Regions from separate parts of the Homo sapiens genome. Here regions 1, 2 and 4 are each linked to region 3. Evidence: promoter capture Hi-C in 16 types of primary human blood cells and fetal thymus (Javierre and others, 2016). All regions are on one chromosome and are shown on one strand. Each heading gives the region's core, a stretch centred on a gene start or on the middle of the fragment in contact. The rest is flanking DNA. Distances are from core to core; before and after follow the strand shown. Region 1 holds the start of XPNPEP3 (X-prolyl aminopeptidase 3). Region 2 overlaps XPNPEP3 (X-prolyl aminopeptidase 3). Region 3 holds the start of L3MBTL2 (L3MBTL histone methyl-lysine binding protein 2). Region 4 overlaps ST13 (ST13 Hsp70 interacting protein).

Region 1 (2,700 bases), core at 175-2,674, 350 kb after region 3:
AATAAAATAATAAAAGCCCAGGGTATTTTAAATGCTTCTAATATAAGATGTGATATTTAGTAGAGTTTATCTGTTATCATGCATGTGGTAGTAAAGTTGAAAAAAAAATTGCAATTTTCCAAAAACTAAAGCAAAAATCAGTGTCTCAGAAAATTTAAGAATGTAATGACATGCCCTGTAGTCCATTTCTTCACTCTTAACAGAAAACCAAAAATTTAGATTTAATCATCTTACTCAATAGCTTAAAATTCCTCAAAGTTTTCCCACCATCTAAAGGAAAAAGCTAATTGTTTGCTTAACATAATATACAAGGCCCTCCACGAGCCAGCCACCAGCTTTTTTCCCAACTTGATTTCCTATCAGCTCCTTGTACTCATCTTATGCTCTAGCCCAACTTCTCCCAAAATCTGTTCCAGGGATACCAGTTCAAGATTCATCACAGAAAAGGGGTCCATGGTCAAATACATTTTTACACATTTTGCAAATTACTGCGGAACACATCTCTCAGAAACCTAGACTATTAAGGGCTGGGTGCAGTGGCTCACACTTATAATCGCAACACTTTGAGAAGCTGAGGTGAGAGTTCAAGTTTACTTTGGGCAACATGGCAAGACCCCATCTCCAAAAAAAGAATTAAACTATTATGTACATTATGAAAGGCAGCATTCCCCAAAAGTATTTGATCACAGAATCATTTTCGTGTAATGCCTACTATTTTGTTTGAGAACATCTTTCAAAAAATCTTTTCCTAAGCCGGGCGCGGTGGCTCACGCCTGTAATCCCAGCACTTTGGGAGGCCGAGGCGGGTGGATCACGAGGTCAGGGGTTCAAAACCAGCCTGGCCAAGATGGTGAAACCCCATCTCTACTAAAAACACATAAATTAGCCAGGCGTGGTGGCGGGCGCCTGTAATCCCAGCTACTCGGGAGGCTGAGACAGGAGAATCGCTTGAACTCGGGAGGTGGAGGTTGCAGTAAGGCAAGAGATCGCGCCACTGCACTCCAGCCTGGGCGACAAGAGCAAGACTCTGTCTCAAAAAAAAAAAAAAAAAAAAAAAAGCTTCTCCAGCCATACTAAACGATTGCAACGCTTAGTGCTGGCCACTCCGTTTTAGAGTTCTGTGCCTTTGCAAGTGTTCCTTCTGGTAGTATGGCTCCTTTAGTCAGGCTGGGGAGAGCCTTTCAAATAAAAGCAAATTCCAGGCCTGGGGCGGTGGCTCAGAGAGGAGGGTGGATCGCTTGAGGCCAGGAGTTCGAGATCAGCTTGGCCAACGTGGCAAAACCTGGTTTCTACTACAATTACAAAAATTAGCCAGGCGTGGTGGCACACGCCTATAATCCCAGCTACCTCGGGAGGCTGAGGCACGAGAATTGCTTGAACTCAGGAGGCAGAGGTTGCAAATGAGCAGAGATTGCCACTGCACTCCAGTCTGAGCAACAGAATGAGAGCCTGTCTCAAAAAAAGACTGAAAAATTGCACATCTTTCTTTTCACCTAATCCCACGGAGAGTTGTCTTTCTGCAGCTTTACTATGAGAACTGAAGAACAAGTTCTGTGCACTGGACAATAACTTTTTATTTTTTATAGTAAGAAGTCGATGTAATTAACATTCCATTTTAAATGAATTCAAGTATATCAACATAAACATATGCCAAGACATAGCTTTGATGTCAAATACCATACGTTCTGGTTCACACATTGTTCATATATTGACCCAAAAAACTGAAATACGATCCAATGGCAGATCCGCCTGCAAGGAAGGTGATTCAGTTTTCACTGATTAAGCTTTATGTTCATCAGATTAATTGCTCGCAATAGAGGACACCCTACAAAAAATTATTCTCCTTATCCTTCGTCTTGTCTTTGCAAACAGGACTTTCAGACACAGAACGCCCCAGAAGTATTTCGAAACAGTTACCTCTCCTAAGAGGAGCTGCTGAAAGAATTTGTTACTAAACATGCTTCGTGTATATTCTGGAGCAAGCTCTCACGCCTAACAGAAACAAGAGCTACTTGATGTGAGACACTTTGTCACTTAAGTGTGATAATTGCCACAACTTCGGAGTCCGAGTAACTTGGAAGACAGCCCCTCTGGGGGATGGCACACTTTTCTCTCTGCAGTCATTTCGGCTTCACAAAATACCTCAACGGTAGAGAACACACTGGGCCCACCCCTTTCCAGGAGCAGCCGGTATAGAAGAAATCCGCGGAGCACAGAGGGTTGGGGAGCGGAGGCCCCACCAGGAGAAGGGTCAGCCGAACCAGGGATCGCCTGAGACCAACTTGGGTCCCTCCAGGGGACACCATGGGAGGAGACCGTGGGAGAAGAGTCTAACCTGAGAGGCCGCGGACGTTTGCTACAGCGGGAACCAGCTTGGGGGCTGAGAGCAGCCAAGGCATTACGGCCTAACTCACGCGTCGGGAAGAGAAAGAGGGTAACGACGGGGAACGCAACCGCCTGCAGGGCCGCGTCGCCAGGAAACCGGGCCAGCCGCACCTCCCCTTCCGGCGGAGGCGGCTCGCGGGCCTTCCTTGCGCGGCGGCGCAGGTTGTGACGTCATGCCCCGAGCTGGGACCGACCCTCCGGCTCCACGCCCTTTTTTTTTTTTTTTTTTAGGTCCCGGGCGTTGAGCTCTACTCAGTGCACGCAGCCACACAATATGCTCTTGGACGTCGCCCCCTGGAGGGGATGTTATCTCCC
Region 2 (2,700 bases), core at 133-2,632, 330 kb after region 3:
GATTATTGGTATAATGGCATCCTGAAATGGTCTATCAATATGTACTAGACATGTAAGTAAAAAACAGGTTTATTCATCTATAAATTTATTTACATAGAGACTACATTATTTATTCTGCATTAAAATTGAATCAGGAGATGAAGACAAGAGGAAACATTTAATCACTATGAATACAGTGATTTAAAAAAATTATATAAGTAAGCCCTGGCAACAAAGTGAGATCCCATCTCTACAAAAATTTAAAAAATTAGCCAGGCATGGTGGCTTATGCCTGTAGTCCTAGCTACTTGGGAAACTGAAGTGGGAGGATCGCTTGGGAGGTCGAGACTGCAGTGAGATATGATCATGCCGCTGCAGTTTAGCCTGGGAGACAGAGCAAGACCCCATCTCAAAAAAAGCAAAAACAAAAACAAATAAAATTACATAGGTACATTGGGGTGAGAAAATAAAATATATTACTTTATAAAACAGGTGGGCTTCATGGTGAAGTACTTATAGAAAAAGTAGACCTTCAACTTAAATTTAAAACCTGTAGGATACAAAACTTTTAGTCTACTATTCTATCAGGTATAATCTATTAAAAAAGTGTTGAAATGGTTAGATAAATGTAACGTCATCACTTATTGATGGTGGTGATGATGATAAAGATGTGAATGAATTTAAGGACTGAGTGACTGGGGATGAGACTACAGAGGCATGTGGAAGGCACATTCTCTGCTTTAAAACATGACCAATGGCCACAGAACTGGCTTGTCCCCTTAAGTCATCAGGCATCTCATGCACCTAGCTAAATGAGTACCCACTAGGTTAGTGGTGTATGTGAGAAACGCCCGGGGAGCTCTTCAAAACACATGTTCCGGTTGGGTATGGTGGCTCATGCCTATAATTCCAGCACTTTGGGGGGCCAAGGTGGTAGAATTGCTTGAGTCCAGGAGTTCAAGACCAGCCTGGGCAACATAGTGAGACCTTATCTCTATAAAAAATATAAAAATTAGCTGGGCATGATGGTGCATGCCTGTAGTCCCAGCTATTCAGGAGGTTGAGACAGGAAGATTGTTTGACCCCCGGAGGTCAAGACTCCAGTGAGCCATGATCTCGGCACTGTACTCCAACCTTGGAAACAGAGTGAGACCCTGTCTCAAAAAAAACAAAAACAAAAACACATGTTCTAAGCCCTCCCTTTGAGATTCTCATTCAACAACTCTATTTATAGAGTCCTAGCACGTATGTATATTTTGAAAAAGCTTACCCAACAGTCTAGGCAGGTTCAAACCACTTCCAATTTCTGTTATTTCTTGATTCCTTTTAATTTTTTAAATTCTTCTGAGATAGGGTAACACTCTGTCACCCAGGCTAGAGTGCAGTGGCGCAATCATGGCTCACTACGGCCTTGACCTCCTGGTCTCAAGCATCATTTTATTTATTTTTTATTTTTCTTCCTAACTCCCCAAAGTTGTTATCAAGCATCATTTTAATCTTTTAAATAGTATAAAAATCTTACCACCACCAAAATAAGCTTTGTCTTTTAGATATTATTAAAATCAACCATATTTAACAAGTTTTAAAAATAAAATGCATCCCTTGCTCAAGAGACGGCTACAATTAAACTATCACTGAAAGATGGGCAGCTGATTTTGAAACTCTTAAGGGAAAAAGATTTGGGGATTATTATCTATAACCCACTCTAGAATCAATCATTTCATCATTTTAAATATTATATTCACTGTAACTGTACTGTCTCTGCCATTATATTTATTTATTTATTTTATTTCTATTTTATTTTATTTTTGAGACGGTCTTGCTCGGTTGCCTAGGCTGAAGTGGAGTGGCACAATCTCAGCTGACTGCAGCCTTGACTTCCCAGGCTCAAACAATCCTCCTACTTCAGCTTCCCAAAGTGCTGGGATTATAGGCGTAGCTAGGACTACAGACATCTGTCAACACACTCAGCTAATTTTGCTTACTTTTTTGCAGAGATAAGGTCTCACTACGTTGCCCAGGCCTCCCAAAGTGCTGGGATTATAGGCGTGAGCCACCGCACCTGGCTTCTGCCATTATAGTTGACGATAGAGATGAAACGGTAAATGGTGAAAGCATCGTCTTATATTTCATGCCACACAGTTGCATTCTGATTATTTCCCTAAAAATCTGTTTGCTGCTGTAGTTGAAAACCAAGAAGTGGGCCAGGCATGGTGGCTCACGCATGTAATCCCAGCACTTTGGGAGGCCAAGGCAGGCAGATCACAAGGTCAGGAGTTCAAAACCAGCCTGACCAATATGGTGAAACCCCCTCTCTACTAAAAATACAAAAATTAGCCAGGTGTGGTGGCGCACACGTGTAGTCCCAGCTACTCTGGAGGCTGAGGCAGGAGAATTGCTTGAATCTGGGAGGCGGAGGTTGCAGTGAGCCGGATCACGCCACTGCACTCCAGCCTGGGCGACAGAGCGAGACTCTGTCTCAAAAAAAAAAAAAAAAAAAAAAAAAGAAAAAGAAAAAGAAAAAGAAAACAACCATGAAGTGGTTCTACATATGTCAGACAAGTTATTCTGACAAGCCCAACTCCCTGAGTAGCCCTTTTTAAACCTAGCATTCCAAACTATACCACATATTCTAAAACTAATTTTAAGAATGTAAAAATTTTAGAAATAATGCTTCATTAGGAATTCCACTGATTCTTCCCGTTCATTCTCTGATATGTT
Region 3 (2,700 bases), core at 8-2,507:
CCTCGGCCTCCCAAAGTGCTGGGATTACAGGCGTGAGCCACCGCACCCAGCAAGGAAACAATTCAAATATAGGTACCCTTGTCAGGCAGGGTGACAGAGACCACCTATAGTCCCAGCTACTTAGGAGGCTGAGGTGTAAGGATTGCTTGAGCCCAAGAGTTAGAGGCTGCAGTGCGTTGTCATCACGCCTGTGAGTAACCACTGCATTCCAGCCAGGGCAACATAGGAACACCCCGTCTCTTAAATATAAGGTGCCCAGAAACCAAATGATTAAAGGATGAGGCGGGGTGCAGTGGCTCATGCCTGTAATCCCAGCACTTTGGGAGGCCGAGGTGAAGCAGACAGATCACCTGAGGTCAGGAGTTCGAGACCAATCCGACCAACATGGCAAAACCTCGTCTCTACTAAAAATACAAAAATTAGCCGGGTGTGGTGACACATGCCTGTAATCCCAGGAACATGGGAGATGGAGACAGAATTGCTTGAACCCGGGAGACGGAGGTTGCAGTGAGCCGAGATCGCGCCACTGCACTCCAGCCTAGGTGACAGAGCAAGACTCCGTCTGAAAGAAAAAAAAAAAAGGATGAGTGGGTTCCAGGTTGCAGTACAGTGTGAAAAGCATAACAGGCAAAGTTTCAGAGGCGGACAGACTTAGTGCCAATCTCCTTCACTTTCCAGCCGGGGTAACTTCCTGGGGTGTCGCACCACCTCTAAGCCTCAGTGGCTTGAACGACAAAGACGAAAGAATAATACATGATTGCTGTGAGTGTACTGGAAGATAATGCACGTGAACGTTACAGACAAGGAGTGATGTTCACCCAACTTTAATCTCCCTTCACTTCCCACCTCATGTAACAGGCCTCACAAGCCCTAAACAACACAGCCACGAGACAAGCAGGATAAGGAAGATTCAGGAGCTCTCAGATCCTAAACCTAGTTCCCTTTCCCCCAGGCCAGGGACGGCTGTTCCTCCCTGAACTCCTCGCCGAACGTTGGCCCCAGCAGGAGAGGGGCAAAAAGTAACGTCAATTGCCTCTGCCCCTGGCTCAGTTTAACTACCTCAGTTTATCCATCCTCCCACCCTCCACCCTCCAGGCGTCGCTAAAAGCCCTAAAGAAGGGCCCACGGAGCGAGGCTCTCGGAGTTCCCTTTCCCAGTCACGCTAAGTCCTCGCCTTCTCACCTCAATACTCCGGGGCTTCTCCATGAGACCTCAGTTTCGCCAAGCGTCACCAGGTGCAGGAAGCCATATTGGCCTGCCCCGTCGCTCTCCGCGAGAGCACTCATTGGTCGCCTCCCTGAGCCGCGGGCCAATCACGCTGCAGGAAGGAGGAAAAGCCGGTTCCGTGCCTGCTCCCGCCATTCTCTCCCTGTGGGCGGGGAAGCCGCGGGCGGTTATGGGAATTGTAGTTCGCATGTGTGCAGGGTGAGTCGTTACCATAGCGACGTGGAAACCAGGGGCGCTGGAAACCTGGTGCGCCTCACGCCGAGTGTTCCAATTACGCCAACCTCTTGACTTCACTGGATGTTATTCTTCCCTAAACGGTTATTGAGCACCTATGATAGTCACTGTTCCAGACTCCAGGAATAACCTCGTACTCTCCCGGGTTAGATATTTAAGGTGCCCTTTTGCTGGGATGCATAGCAGAGGGACTCATTTCCAACTCAGGCAGAAACTGGACTACTCCAGATTAAAAAGAAAAAAAAAAGGAAGAAACTGGAATACTCTGTGTGTGTGTGTGTGTGTGTGTGTGTGTGTGTGTGTGTGTGTGTGTGTGTTTTCTTGAGACGAAGTCTTGCCCTGTCGCCCAGGCTGGAGTGCCGTGGCGCGATCTCGGTTCACTGCAACCTACGCCTGCCAGGTTCAAGCGATTCTCCTGCCTCAGCCTCCCAAGTAACTGGGACTACAGGCGCCCACCACCAAGCCCGGCTAATTTTTGTATTTTTTAGTAGAGACGGGGTTTCACCAGGCTGGTCTTGAACTCCTGACCTCGGGATCCACCCGCCTCGGCCTCCCAAAGTGCTGGGATTACAGGCGTGAACCACCGCGCCCGGCTGAAACTGGAATATTCTTTTTCTCAATACTGTAAATGTCCAGCCTGCTCAAAATCTTACAACATTCCTCCTTCACCACTCTCTCCTGGGTAAAAACCTCGAATCTGAGGCTCTCTGCCTCATCCCGTTAGGGTTTCCCACAACCTCCTTAGACACCCTGAGTTCTAGGTGCTGTTGTGGAGCTTTGCAAACATCTTTTCAAACCCTTAGACATCCTATCACCGTTTGAAAGAAGAGGAAGTGGTGGCTCTTCACCACTTCAGGTTTAGGCACTTTCCAAGATCACACAGGATTGGGATTCCAAATTTAGTACAGATTCCTTCCCTATGCCATGCCGTGTCCCAGTGAATTAATTGAGACTCTAAATGCAATATGTGGAGGCTGAATACATATAAAATATATGCCTAAATTTGAAGTCCGCCGTGGAGATGTCAAACTCTTCCTAGAGGTCTTTCTTTCCTTCAACCCCTTCCACCCTAAACCCCTGTATCCATGCTGTCAACGTGTTGGTTTTTCTACCTCCAAAATATATCCTGTATTTCCTCCACCACTACCACTCTAATACAAGCCACCGGCCCATTGCAGCAGCCCTTCAACTGGTCACCCTTTCTTTCTTTCTTTTATTGATTGATTGATTGATTGAGAT
Region 4 (2,700 bases), core at 12-2,511, 370 kb after region 3:
CCTGTATTTTACTTCTCCAATCTTGTTTTCTCCAGTCAGACTTTACTGTTCTAGAATTTTTTTTTTTTTTTTATTTATGCTATACTGTTTCTCTGGAAAGCTTTTCTTCACATATTTCAACTTTTAATTCATACCTATCAGTTGTTCCCAGCCATTGCTCTTCTGTACCATTCCTTTTCATCGCACGAAACTTTTGCTAATTTCCCTACCACCTAAATTTTAAGAGACAGAGTCTTACTCTGCCACTCAGTTTGGAGTGCAGTGGCATGGTCATGGCTCACTGCAGCCTCAAGTTTTGTAGGCTCAAGCAATCTTCCTGAGTAGCTGGCAATACAGGTGCCTGCCACCATGCCTGGCTAATTATTATCTCTTTTTTTTTTTTTTGGTAGAGATAGGGTTTCATCCTGTTGCCCAGGCTCGTCTTGAACTCCTGCCCTCAAGCAGGCCTCCCAAGCTCAGCATCTGAAAGTGCTAGGATTACAGGTGTGAGGCACTGTGCCCAGCCCATTTTAAAATTTACTGTCTCGGCAATATGTAACAAAAGGAAAATGAGGCTATCACCTAATCATGTTTTTGTTTTCTCACTTTTTTCTGAACTCTCTGTTCATGTGCCTTTGTAAATTTAATCTAGTTCTGATTTTAGAATTTATGCAATTGTATAGTGTATTCTAAAGGATAAAAGATTAGTATTCTAAAGCAGGGGTTGTGAATCCAAGCTCCACCAAGGTTGGTGAAGGCAGTTTTGTTTGGAGAATGTAATTAAAACCTGGAGTATGGAGCCAGAGTGGTATGGTTTGAATCCCACGTCTGGCACTTAACTGTGGCTGCTTTCCCACTACAACAGCATCATTGAGTAGTTATGACAGATTGTATGGTCTGCAGAGATTAAAATAATTCTTATTTGGCCCTTTCCAGAAAACGTTTACCAACTCCTGAACTAAATGTATGGAGGAGCCATTTGTTTAGTTGGGAAGATACAGATTGGGAATAGATTTGGAAATGGGCTAGGAAATGGGAATTCAGTTTTTCGGTTTTGAGTGGGCGTGGTGGTTCACACTTAACAATCCCAGCACTTTGAGGGGCCGAAGCGAAAGGATCTCTTGAGTCCAAGAGTCCAAGATCAGCCTGGTCAACACAGTGAGACTCCATCTCTTAAACACAAAAAATTAGCTGGATGTGGTAGCACGTTTCTGTAATATGAGCTACTTGAGAGGCTGAGATGGGAGGTTCCCTTGAGGCTGGGAGGATCCTTTGAGCCCAGGAAGTTGAGGGTGCAGTGAGCTGTGATTGTGTCACTGCACTCCAACCTGGGTGACAGAGCAAGACCTTTTTTTTTTGAGATGGAGTTTCAGTCTTGTTGCCCAGACTGGAGTGCAATGGCACGATCTTGGCTCACCGCAACCTCCGCCTCCCGGGTTCAAGCGATTCTCCTGCCTCAGATTCCTGAGTAGCTGGGATTACAGGCATGCGCCACCATATGCGGCTAATTTTATATTTTTAGTAGAGACGGGGTTTCTCCACGTTGGTCAGGCTGGTCTTGGTATTTCTCCATGTTGGTCAGGCTGGTCTTGAACTCCCGACCTCAGGTGATCCACCTGCCTCGGCCTCCCAAAGTGCTGAGATTACAGGCGTGAGCCACTGTGCCCAGCCAAGACCCTGTCATAAAAAAAATTTAGGTTTTGAACATGGTAGGTCTGAGTTGTTTATTAGACATTTAAGTGTAATTACCTATAATAGATACCTGTAGTAGTAATTAATAAGACTGAGCATTTTTCTGTGTTGTTTTTGTGAGTTCTTTTCAAGTCCTTTACTCATTCGCTAACTGGCTAAGTATCTTTCACAGTGAATTGTGACATTTATTTAAAAATTTCTGTGTTCGGCCTGGCACAGTGGTAATCCCAGCTACTCAGAAGGCTGAGTTGGGGGGATTACTGGAGCCCAGGAGTTCGAGAGCAGCCTAGGTGACACAGTGAGGCCCAGTCTCTAAAAAATTTTTTTTAATTAGCCAGGTTTAGTGTTGTGGGCTTGTATTCCCAGCTACTCAGGAAGCTGAGGTGGGATGATCACTTCAGCCTGTGAGCTATGATCATGCCACTGTACTCTAGCCTATGTGAGAGTTAGACCCTGTCTCTTAAAAAAAATTCTGTATTTGTCTTGCCTCCCCAAGATTTAGACTTTGTGCAAAGAACTCTTCTGATTCTATAGGGTGTTTTATTTGTTGAATGACATAAGGGATTAGTAAAGAAGCTAACTATGAGAATAGGACAAAATGAATTAAAGTATAGGTTATGGTCTTTTATGAATTCTAGTTTTCTTGAATTTTTGTACCATTTCTTTGAATTCAAATAATAAGCATATTGTTGTTTTCTTTTAAAATCAGCCCTGTGAAGTTAACATGGGTTACTTTTCCTTTCTAAGCTTAATTTTTTCTTTTTAATTTAATGGATAAAAGAAAATCAATGGAATAAAATTAATTTATCTTATCCTTTAAATTGATTTTATCTTTTTACTTTTTTCTTTTATTTTTATTTTTATTTTTTTGAGACGGAGTCGTGCTGTGTCACCCAGGCTGGAGTGCAGTGGTGATCTCGCCTCACTGGAAGCTCCGCCTCCCGGGTTCGCGCCACTCCTCAGCCTCCCAAGTGGCTGGGACTACAGGGCTCCGCCCCCACGCCCAGCTAATTTTTTGTATTTTTTAGT

Evidence for each region. Contacts are between HindIII fragments. The CHiCAGO score rates a contact against its expected background, and 5 or more counts as called.
Region 1: a contact is called between a fragment that was not itself captured here and the fragment with the promoter of L3MBTL2 in region 3, in 10 of 17 cell types (naive CD8 T cells, naive CD4 T cells, monocytes and 7 more). The highest score is 9.6, in naive CD8 T cells.
Region 2: a fragment that was not itself captured here is called in contact with the fragment with the promoter of L3MBTL2 in region 3 in 1 of 17 cell types (M2 macrophages); the score reaches 5.2 in M2 macrophages.
Region 4: a fragment that was not itself captured here is called in contact with the fragment with the promoter of L3MBTL2 in region 3 in 1 of 17 cell types (M1 macrophages); the score reaches 5.1 in M1 macrophages.

Annotation. Positions count from the first base shown.
Region 1 is chr22:40,856,881-40,859,580 of GRCh38, reverse strand. It overlaps XPNPEP3 (X-prolyl aminopeptidase 3), which reads right to left and starts at 2,433. Exons shown (of 10, transcript NM_022098.4): 1 at 2,336-2,433. The coding sequence starts at 2,399. DNAJB7 (DnaJ heat shock protein family (Hsp40) member B7) reads left to right here. Exons shown (of 1, transcript NM_145174.2): 1 at 1-32. RefSeq lists enhancers at 2,128-2,587, 2,598-2,700, 2,445-2,700. The HindIII fragment of the contact is 725 bases long and covers 1,062-1,786 here.
Region 2 is chr22:40,872,884-40,875,583 of GRCh38, reverse strand. All of the region lies in intron 2 of XPNPEP3 (X-prolyl aminopeptidase 3), which reads right to left. It overlaps LOC124905124 (a long non-coding RNA gene), which reads left to right. Exons shown (of 3, transcript XR_007068111.1): 3 at 1-237. Among named protein-coding and RNA genes, the nearest start is that of DNAJB7, 12 kb to the right of the region's middle. The HindIII fragment of the contact is 272 bases long and covers 1,247-1,518 here.
Region 3 is chr22:41,203,869-41,206,568 of GRCh38, reverse strand. It overlaps L3MBTL2 (L3MBTL histone methyl-lysine binding protein 2), which reads right to left and starts at 1,257. Exons shown (of 17, transcript NM_031488.5): 1 at 1,183-1,257. The coding sequence starts at 1,206. RefSeq lists an enhancer at 1-413. The HindIII fragment of the contact is 3,698 bases long and covers 1-2,700 here.
Region 4 is chr22:40,836,284-40,838,983 of GRCh38, reverse strand. The region is part of intron 5 of ST13 (ST13 Hsp70 interacting protein); the gene reads left to right. Among named protein-coding and RNA genes, the nearest start is that of SLC25A17, 18 kb to the right of the region's middle. The HindIII fragment of the contact is 2,318 bases long and covers 103-2,420 here.